3 separate regions of the Homo sapiens genome follow, and all the other regions are linked to region 1. Evidence: promoter capture Hi-C in 16 types of primary human blood cells and fetal thymus (Javierre and others, 2016). All regions are on one chromosome and are shown on one strand. The core of a region is centred on a gene start or on the middle of the fragment in contact, and the rest is flanking DNA. Distances in the headings are between cores, read along the strand shown.

Region 1 (3,470 bases), core at 971-3,470:
GCTATATTCCCAGCACCTATCAGGTGCCTGGCACATAGGAGATGCACAGTAAAAGATTTCTGGGTAAGTGGGGCCGGGGAAAGGCCAGGAAAATGAGTAAAGGGGAGAGTGGCACCAAGTGAGGTGAGACAGGATTCCCATCACTGGAGGCCCTGCCGGCCATCTGGAGGTTTGAGTTTTATTCTGAATGCTACGAAGTTCAGAAGTGTATTTTTCCGGATATGTTCAATTTGAGATGTTTGTGCAACACCTAAGGGCATATGTCCATTACGCACTGTGGATATTCTAGCCTGGAATTCAGGCAGAGGCCAGGGCCGGAGACGATAAGTGAGGCATCTTGTGTGTCAAGATGCTATTTAAATCCATGGGAATTGGGGCAGTCACATAGGGAGAGGGCGGAAAAGAAATGCAGTCCCAGGACTACAGTCTCTTCTCTGAGGAACCCAGGTTGGACTGAGGAAAAGGAGCCAAAAAGGATTCAAGAGTGGCCAGTGAGTAGCGATGGCCGCTCCTTGGTGGGCTCTGAAAACATACAGGAGAGGTAATGAATACAGGGGCCGGTTAGGACGGGAGGCTGTATCCAAGTCTGAAGGCATAATCCTAGATAGACTAAGCCTTAAAGGGCCTGGATGCTCTTCCAGGTGACAGGGTTGGACAGGGCCTTTTATTCCTTATCTCAAGGTAATGAGATATGGAATACAAAATTTACTAAGGACTCAAATCTTAGAAACATGTCTGAGAAATGCAGTTGCATTGAAACACACACGGACTGCAGAACAGTATTTGTATTATGATGCCGTTTGTAGCTAAATAAAGTCTGGGAGCATGAGTGTGTGTGAGGAAGTGGTGTTTCCCATCGTAGAAAATGATTAAATATTTAAAAACGAGAAGTTAAAAAGAAAATCACTCCGAAAAGGCTATTTCGTTATTTTCCTATACATTTTTTTCTTCCATAGTTAAAACTATATTTCAGGGGGATTTGTTTTGGTTTTGCTGAATACTAAAAGCTTCATGAACACCTTTTTAAGACGGCTAGACAGTATTTCATAATGGAATCAAATAATTAACTATTCCTTTAATGGTCTGCGTTCATTTCCAGTATTTCAAATTTATACATACTGCTTTGAAACGTTTATGTAATTTTTTACATGAATTTTTTAAGGAGATATCAAATGGCCTTCTGCCAGTTTTCGTTATTTGCTCTAAGATTTCTGCTTTAGGTTGTTTAGAACAATCATGGATGCAGCGTCAAGAATGGGTGGGGGAGGGGGGTGGAGACCAGGTGGGAGGCCCCTGGAGTCGTCCTGCAGCTTCCTTACTAACGTGTCCTTCTCCTCCCGGCCCCCACCCGCCACCAGGCCGAGCTCAGGAGCTTGGCAACAACATGGGAGGGGAGCTCGGGTCCCCTTACAGACCTACCCAATCCCAATTTACATTAAAGTTGAGCCCAGGAGGTCTAGTCTGCAGTGAGCCGTAATCGCGCCACTGCACTCCAGCCTGGGTGACAGAGTGAGACCTCATCTCTTAAAAAATTCCAAGTCCAGCTCCCCCACCCCCGACGATTCGTAAGCCCCTTTAAGTGAGAAGCACTGATGTGGACCGGTGGTTTCCGCTGTGCCGCACATTAGGATCAGCTGGGAGCTGGATAGCACAGGCCACACCCCACACCAACCAGTCGGAATCCCGGCGACTGCCCCAAGCCAGCGGAACCTCTCCAGCCATGCCCACGTGCAGCCGCTTCCGAAGCCCGGAGCTCTAGAGGGAGCGGTGTCGGGGGGAGACTAACCATGGCCCACGGGGCTGCGGTAGCTGCGGAACCGTACCCGACAGGCAGCGTCCCCGGCTCCCTAGGTCCCCGCTGCCCGTGTCGGATCTCGCAGTGTGCGAGTGCTGCCGAAGTAAGACGTCTCCAAAGCGCAAAGTCCTGGCCGACGTCTTCCCGAGTGAAGGCGCCAAACGGGCCTGGCGAAGGGAAGGGGGCGCCGGACACTGCCGAGGATCCGGGAGCACGCGCGCTCGCCCCGCCCCGCTCCTCGCGCTTGGGGCCGGGCCTAGCTTTGGGGCGCAGGCGCGCTGGCCGCCGCGGCGGGGGGTCGGCCGCCAGTGACGTCAGGACGCCGTGCGGGTTCCGTCCCCCAACAAGCCCCGGCCCCCAAGTCCCGCGCGGGCCGGCCAGGGGCGGGGCGTCGGGCCAGCTGAGCTATCCCGTCAGACCGCGCCAGTTTGAATGAAAGCTCTACAAGATGGCGGCGGTCGGGGCCGAGGCGCGAGGAGGTGAGGCTGGAGCGCGGCCCCCTCGCCTTCCCTGTTCCCAGGCAAGCTCCCAAGGCCCGGGCGGCGGGGCCGTCCCGCGGGCCAGCCAGATGGCGACGTGGCGGTTCCCCGCCCGCCGCGACCCCAACTCCGGGACGCACGCTGCGGACGCCTATCCTCCCCCAGGCCGCTGACCCGCCTCCCTGCCCGGCCGGCTCCCGCCGCGGAGGTGGGCACTGTCCGAGCCTGGGGCACTTCGGAAGTGGAGCGTGGCCTCTCCGCCCGCTCGGCCCGGCCCCCTCCGCGTCTCCCGTGGCGGCCTCGGGCTTCGAGGCCGCTCCCCGGCAGTCCCCGGTTGGAGGTCCGGGGGGCACGGCTGCGACTGGCTCCTTTGTGGTGGTTCGAGCGCGGCGTGCGGCATGCGCCCGGGCCTTTGAAGTGGGAGGCGGGAAGCGACGCCCGCCGGCGTGAACATGACCTTAATATCAGAGGGGGAGAGTAAATCGGGGCGCCTGTGTGCTAAGAAAGGGGATAAGCGAGGAATCCCCCCCAAGGCGGACACGCTAGGAGGTTGAGTGCCTCGTTGGAGAATCGCCCAGAAAGTGGGTATTTGAGGTTGCAGCCTCTGGCTTACGGTAACTCTTTCACCCACCGGGAGCTTGGTGTTATTTCTGTGGACGCTGGGGAATTGGGCACCGGGGAACTGGGCACCGAGCGCGCGTGGGTGTGGGCGTCGGGGGGTGTTGGTGTCGCGCACGCTTTGAGAGCCTGGAACTTTTCCGTGCGTTCCGGAATGTAAAGGTGTTTTCAAGCTCGTCTCCTCTCCGCTGGGATTATGACCTCATTATCCCTGAATTTTTCTCCTTGGAGAATGTCAGGGGTTACTGTGAACCAGCGGAAGGTGTTTGTGGTGGTCATGAACTATTTAATTTTGTCAGTGAAATCTTTTTCTGCATTACTGGAGACTGTCGAGAGATTGTCTTTCTTTTTTTAACCACGTGTTTGCAGTTTTTCATGTTCACTTTTTTTTTTTTTTTAATTTTCAAAGAGCATTTCCTTTGCGGGTTGTGTTTTGAATCCTCAACTAGATAAAAATGTTTAGGAAAAGCACACAAACACACCTTGAGTAGATAAGAGGAACCTCCTTTATACGTGATTCCCTTAATGAGGTCAGCTTAACACAAAACGTTCTCTAGTTTTTGTAGATGGAAGGGACT
Region 2 (3,272 bases), core at 527-3,026, 1.3 Mb before region 1:
GTTAGGTGTGTTCAATGGAATTGAGACATGGTCATCAAAGATAACATAGTTAAAAAGATTGGACCATGGCCTCCGGCCTGGAGAGTGTTTTTTCCTTTCTTTCTACACAGCCCTTTCTGAGAGGATACCAATGTGTGTTTGCCAACTTATTTGAAATATGACAATTATATACTACCTAGTCAAAAACAATTTTAGATGCCGAAATAATATTTTGGGAGTGAAGAACTGTAGCTTGGAAGACTAGATCAGAACAAAGGGTTTAAGGACCAGAGTTCTAGTTGCTACTCATCATTCTTCCTGAGTTCTGGGAATGTCACCTAACCTAATTCTCAGCGTTCTCATCTCTAAAAAGGGGTTAATACTATTTGCCCCCACCGTACTCAGGGTAGTTTTGATGTTCAGATGATACCATCGGTTCCTTACCCCAGATAACATCTTCATCTTTATTTCCGTAAAACTGTGCTTGTTGTGTGGTAGATAAGTCTGGAAATGTTTATTGAATTAAGGAATGAACTTTTAGAAAAACCTTATTCTGAAAGTTTTAAACATAATACAAAAATAGATAAAATTTTATGATGAGCCCCTGTATATCCTTCCCCTGAAACATGCAGCTCTAGAAAATGACATGTTCCTTTAAAACCAAAATATGATCACACCCAACAAAATTAAAATTAGTTTGTTAATTTTATCAGATACTCTTCTCACATTCGTATATTTTCCAACTGAATTAAAATATGTACATACATTTGCTTTTACAGTTGGTTTTTCAAGTCAGGTCAACACGAAGTTCAATCCTTGCATTTGCTTATTATGAATCTTGGTTTCTTTTAATGAAGAACGTTGTCATTTTCTCAACTTGGCTGATTTTTTCCATGCCATTGACTTGCTGGAGAAACTGGGGCTAGTTTTGTAAAATGTCTTTGATTTGTGTAATTGCTTCCTGGCATATTGACACTTAGTTAATTCCTCTCTTCCCTACATTTAACAAGGATACTTCGTAGACGATGGCTGGGTAATTCCTGTAGTATAACATAGGTGGTACATAATCTTTTACTGATGTCAAGCTTGATCATTGGGTTCAAATGGTGGCAGGCTCATCTTTCCATTGTCACCATTGGCCTTTTTCATAAGGTTTTAGCATCCATTGATGATCATTGTCTGAGTGAATGAGCTTTGGAACTATGAGGTGCTAAATACTTGTGTGGAGGTAGTACACAGGTAATATTATATCATTACTGTTAATACAGTCGGGGACAGTGTCTTTATTTGAACAAAGCCATCTTTGGAATAATATCCAAGAGGCAGAGCTGCGATGGCAACAAGCCTCCAAATTACGGACTGTAGATGTAACAATAAGGATAATTTTATGTATAATGTGGAAAGGACTGACATCTTTTTAGCCACAGACAAGATTTAGAGCTTGTCTCTTTACATCAAATCATATCACAACAAATACCTTGTGAGAGGATCATTTGAACCCAGGGAGTCGAAGTTGTGGCCTTGATTGTGCCACTCCACTCCAGCCCGCGTGACAGAGAGATACCCTGTCTCCAAAACAAACAGAAAACCAGAAAAACGCACAAAAAACCCCAAATATCCTTAAATCATTTTTTAAATAAAAGAGTTCACCAAGACCACCCTATATGTAGATTATTTTAAGAACTGATTGATATAATAAGGTTCCAGGTAACAAGAAAGAACTTACACTCCTGGAGTTCCCTTGTTATGTGGGATATCAAATGTAGGCTATATATGTCATAATTTTGTTTCTGTTAGGAAAAAATAATTGAGGTATACCATTTTATGTGTTTCATAATGAATCCATTTGAAGAAATTATCATTGAACTCAGACATTAAGAAGTGAAAACATTTGGAAAATATTCTTGGTCTCCTCTTTGCTGATGGACTTGCCTACTGATTGATACTGCAAGAAAAATACTTGAACTTACCACATATCGGTGCCCATAGTCGTAGTGGAGGGTTGTTGATGTGCTTGGGGAATCAATGTATTCATCTCTGGAACCAAAAAATATTTATTTTATCCAATTCTTGAAAAACTGAAGAGTGTTTCCAAAGTTTTCTAAAGGTATTTGTTGACTATGGGACATGAAATTTTGCTCAAGGATATATTATTGACATAATTTATTTTCTTTAATAGGAAAATAAAAAATATTTCAAGCGTAGTGAGCTCGCCAAAAAAGAAGAGGAAGCATATTTTGAAAGATGTGGCTACAAGGTATGAATGTCTGCTTTTATGTTAAATTGTACATTTCTGAGTTTAAATTTATACAGCTGTTGTTAAATGACAATCATTGATCTCTGTTCAATTTATCAATATACGTTAGCCTATAAATGAGAAGCCATCTGGAGAGGTATGAGTTTTTGTTTTTGCATTTTTAAAAAAATCTTGAATTCAGGAAAATACATGCATGACTTTTGGCTTGGAATGGTTTGGCTTTTTGTGGACGGCATGAAGTGGCTTGAGATCAAAGCTTGAATTTTTTTTTTTTTTTAATAAAGTCCTGAATCTGAGACTGCGTTATTTTCAGCTCCACCACCACTCCTCTCCCCCACCTCTCCCAATAAAACAGTCTATTTGGAAAGACTTCAAAACATTTATTCATCCAGCCACAGTAATATTAGTGGTGGTAATTTTCCTGCCTTCTCCGGAATATTTTAAGCCATCGATTTTATGTTTGCATTGTTAATACGTCCTTTTGGGTCCTAAGAACCTCTGCCTAAAGTATAAAGCCGTATATATTTATATGCCTTTGTTGTAATAAGGTATCACATTTCAAACACTGTTTAGTCTGTTGGATAGAAAATGTCATCTTGAAATATTTCTTAGAAACAAATGAGTTGTCTGGAAGGCTTTGCTTGTATATTTTAGAAGAAATTAGTTGATAATGTATTGTGGTTTTATTGGGAGGGGTTAAAGGGTATAAGGTGGAGAAGTTACGTTTAAATTATTTTAAAAGAAGACTATATCTAGCTTAATTTTTAACTCAAAGCTCAGAGGTTCTATTGGAATACTTTTGCCAAATCATAAACTTGTAATTAACCTTTTGCTTGTAAAATATCAATATAAGATAATACTTTTGTGCATGTAATGGGGAAAGTTCTGGAAATGGATTTATCCTGCATAGCATTTTTAGAAGGAAGCATGAGGAATGCACATGGTATGTATATGCATTTGGTTTGATTTTGTAGTGCTGGGAGAAGACAAGTATTAAAGAAAAATGTAGTTTTCAAAAGATACCAAGAAGTGACTT
Region 3 (3,453 bases), core at 860-3,359, 1.9 Mb after region 1:
TCCCTTTTCCTTCTGCCAAGACATATCAATAGCATCAACTCCAACCTCTGTCCCAGGCAGGTTTTCGAACCGTGAAAACCGTGAATTCACAGTAAACCTGACTCTGCAGTTCTCTCCATGCCTAAATGGCTATCCATCGCCTTTCAGGGTCTCCTGAACATCTCCCTTCTTCTCTCTTGTCACATCCTGGAGTTGATATCCCAAACTCACAGGCCTAATCCATCATTCTTTCATTTTCTTCATTCCTCAACTATTTTTGAGCATCTACTGTGCTCCAGGCACTATTATTAAAAAAATGCAAGCATGAATATTGCACAGCTTTTGTCTTCCCAATGTCCCAGCAGAGAAGAGAGACTTCTAGATTAAAAAAGAAAAAAATCAGTACAATCCTATGTGAGAGGAGTCACAAAGCAATACACACGACCACCTTCACAGAGGAGGGAAGGGATATGTTAGCCTGGTGCAGACGGATAAGGTTTTACACAGGTGGTGATGTCTAAGCTGACTCTTAGAAGTAAAAGGATTTCAGGTGCAAACGACTGAGAAAGAGGGAAAACAGAATTTGTAAAGGCACCAAGATCTGAACGAGTAGGCTCTGGTCCAGGAAGGGCAACAGGTTCAGAATGGCTGGAATGCCAGCTGCATGGAAGGGTAAGGTTGTGTTCAGATTCAGAAAGGCCTTGTACATCACGCCAAGAAACCTGGAGCATTACCGTCGATAATGGACAACCTGGAGAAGTGCGGAGAGGGTTTAAACCAAAGCCACGTCAGCCTGAAGAACTGCTTTAGCTCACTTATCACAGGTTTTTCAAATATTAGAATTAGTAGCCAACATCTAAAAATTAGCAAATTTCACATAAAAATATAGAATCTTGGTTCCTTTAAGAAAATAATCTGGCACATTGGGCCAACATTCCTATGGTGACATGTGTCTGAGTAGCAGGTGCAGCAGCTGGCCCCTTCAAGTGGGACACCTATCACCTAGTTCATAACCGCCCCTGACCGCCCTCACTTGGAGGCATGTGAATCTGCAATCCCTGGTTTTAAGGGAGAGGGTAACACCATAGACAGGGGTTACAGGAAAATGACACTGAAAGTGACCCAGTGATTAAACTGGGCAGTGAAACTGAAGGCAAGAGGGCAAGTTAGGAGGATTTCACCACAGCATGAGGAGGTGACAAAAGCCTGAACCAAGTTCGGAGAATAAATACTCAGAAGAATGTAAAGATTCAAGAAATGCTTAAAACGCTCCAGGCACAAGAATGCTTATTAACCATGGAACTTTTCTGTGTCATTTGTTCATGGACAAAGACTGTATTAGGAGACAGGAAGAAGGACTCAAAATTAATTTTCAATTTATAATTAAAGTGACTATTAAGCAAACTGTGGAAAATCCACCTCAATGCCATACAGCAGAGACAACCGATGAGGCACAGCTGTCTGTGTGATTCTCATCGTGGACTCTCAGGATCGTTTTCCAGGTGGAACAGAACAAATCCTACTGCAAACCCTCTGCGCGAAGCCCCTGACAAGTGAGGTTTACAAGCAGGGGCTGGGGTCTAAACCAGTACAATCGCTCACAGCAGGACCAGCAGTGAATTGGCAAACTTAGAAAGCCTTCCAGCTCATCCACGGGAGAGTCCTGCCCGAGAACTCACAGAGGCCGTTGACATCCAGCATGTTGGAGATGCCCCGGTCACTCATGTCCACCTCGGGCTGGTTCTTCTCCCGGCTCTCCTCCACCAACTTCTTCAGAGACTTGGACATGGTCTGCACCGAACAACAACAAAGCACGTGGGCGATGACAGCAAGCGCAGAGGCGGAAAGGCAAGAGGCCTTCGCTGCCACTCTGAGGCTTCCCCAGGGTTGGAGCGGGTGGGCGTCCGAGGGCGTCCCAGGGGCTGGTCCGGGTGCGGGGAGGGGATGGAGTGGGAAGGGTTCAGCCCCGCTGCGGCCACGCAGCGAGAAGCAACCCCAAGTGCAACACCGCACACACTCACCACGGAAGGTAGCCCCTAAGACGATGGGCGTGCAACCACAAGCTTCGGCAGAACGCACTCCAGCTGCCCTCACTCCCTGCAACACCGGCACTGAACAGCGAACACGCCCTGTCTCGGCGCCCCGCGCAGGCGCACACAGCGCCGCTGCCAGCTCCACGCCCGACCCTACCCATATTAGGAGAACAGCTCTCCAGACGTGTCTCCAGGGCCAGGCTCCGCCCTTAAAAGTCTGTGGAAGAGGCTGGCTAATCACGTTCGTTATTCGGCTTCGAGACCCCGCCCCACGCTGAGGATAGTTTATCCCGGTGGCGTCCACCCCACGGTTTGGGACGCTGATTGGGCCGAAGTTGGCGCGTGCGCAGTAGACTTGGCGCAAGCTCAGTTGATGGGTCGAAGCCCAGAGGGCTGTGGGCGGAAGTGGGGAAGTTTGTGGCGTGACTGTGTAAGGGAGGGTGGTGGCTCAGGGTGGGTGTTGCGAAAGCTGGAAGTAAATTGCTTCCGAATGTTTCGCTTGTGTAATAGCCGCTCCACTCGCCAGAAGTTGCTACCCTGAGCCCGTCTCCACAATGTGCCTCTGAGGGACCTTGTGGGGCACGCAGTTTCCCGCCCTATTAAGAGCTTCTCCAGGCGGGGATTCCGGCGCGGTCTGCGTTTCCCCAGCGCCCTGCTGGAAATCTTTTTTGACAGGTTTCTAAGGCTGGCTTTTAGCCTTTTTACTTGTAGCTAGAACCTACAAGTAAAACCCTACTATTTTAAAAGTCATTTGAAAACACCACTAAAGCGATGTGTCTTTCCCAACTAGGACTTTTACATTTGTGAAACATGACGTTCTGGCTTCCAGGAATCTCTTGCTTTCTCTTCCAAAAGCAACCAAATTTTAAATTCTAGAGAAACTGTTGCCCTCTGCCTCCCTATTTCCTGACCCAGTCTCAGTCACCCAGCAACATCCTGTGCTTCTCTCACCAAAAACCCTGTCCTGAGAGACTATTTTATACTATGGAATAAAAATTGGCACCAGGCACTTTTCTTCTACTGGTCACCTAAATTGATGATAAGACGGATGCCACACATATGCATTTATATATTGTAGATTGTAGCAGGGATCAAAGCCTTAAGGAGATGTGGTAAAATAATGTAATTATATCTCCGAACCAATTGGATAAAAAAAGGATCTGCACTCTTAAATTCGAAAGCAGGTATTTCTTGCTTAAAAAACATTCCAGATGAAAGAGTTATTCCTCCATTAGTCTTCTTTGATCTGGAACCGTCCTTGGCTTTTATGTTTATTGAACTAGACATTATTTAAGAATACAGACCAGGTATTGTGTGGAATATCCTTCAAAGTAAGTTTGATGTTCCCTTTCAGGTTATGAATTTTTGGAGAAACACCACTAAAGCGATGTGTCTTTTCCAGTGCATGATATCAAGGTACAGATGGCATCGGTTTCTCCCA

What was found. The method cuts DNA at HindIII sites, captures the fragments that hold promoters and counts their contacts. A CHiCAGO score of 5 or more calls a contact.
Region 2: a fragment that was not itself captured here is called in contact with the fragment with the promoter of SUV39H2 in region 1 in 1 of 17 cell types (naive CD8 T cells); the score reaches 6.1 in naive CD8 T cells.
Region 3: the fragment with the promoter of RSU1 here is called in contact with the fragment with the promoter of SUV39H2 in region 1 in 6 of 17 cell types (fetal thymus, neutrophils, naive CD8 T cells and 3 more); the score reaches 12.3 in fetal thymus.

What each region holds. Positions count from the first base shown.
Region 1 is chr10:14,876,646-14,880,115 of GRCh38, forward strand. It overlaps SUV39H2 (SUV39H2 histone lysine methyltransferase), which reads left to right and starts at 2,221. Exons shown (of 6, transcript NM_001193424.2): 1 at 2,221-2,274. The coding sequence starts at 2,244. It overlaps SUV39H2-DT (SUV39H2 divergent transcript), which reads right to left and starts at 2,014. Exons shown (of 1, transcript NR_186426.1): 1 at 1-2,014. RefSeq lists a silencer at 1,955-2,694. The HindIII fragment of the contact is 2,774 bases long and covers 1,006-3,470 here.
Region 2 is chr10:13,595,300-13,598,571 of GRCh38, forward strand. PRPF18 (pre-mRNA processing factor 18) reads left to right here. Exons shown (of 10, transcript NM_003675.4): 2 at 2,159-2,236. Among named protein-coding and RNA genes, the nearest start is that of PRPF18, 10 kb to the left of the region's middle. The HindIII fragment of the contact is 1,428 bases long and covers 1,063-2,490 here.
Region 3 is chr10:16,815,315-16,818,767 of GRCh38, forward strand. It overlaps RSU1 (Ras suppressor protein 1), which reads right to left and starts at 2,110. Exons shown (of 9, transcript NM_012425.4): 1 at 2,001-2,110; 2 at 1,659-1,770. The coding sequence starts at 1,767. LOC105376435 (a long non-coding RNA gene) reads left to right here and starts at 2,385. Exons shown (of 3, transcript XR_930708.3): 1 at 2,385-2,442; 2 at 3,367-3,428. RefSeq lists enhancers at 1,589-1,748, 2,419-2,528, 2,559-2,648, 2,679-2,728. The HindIII fragment of the contact is 3,392 bases long and covers 2,041-3,453 here.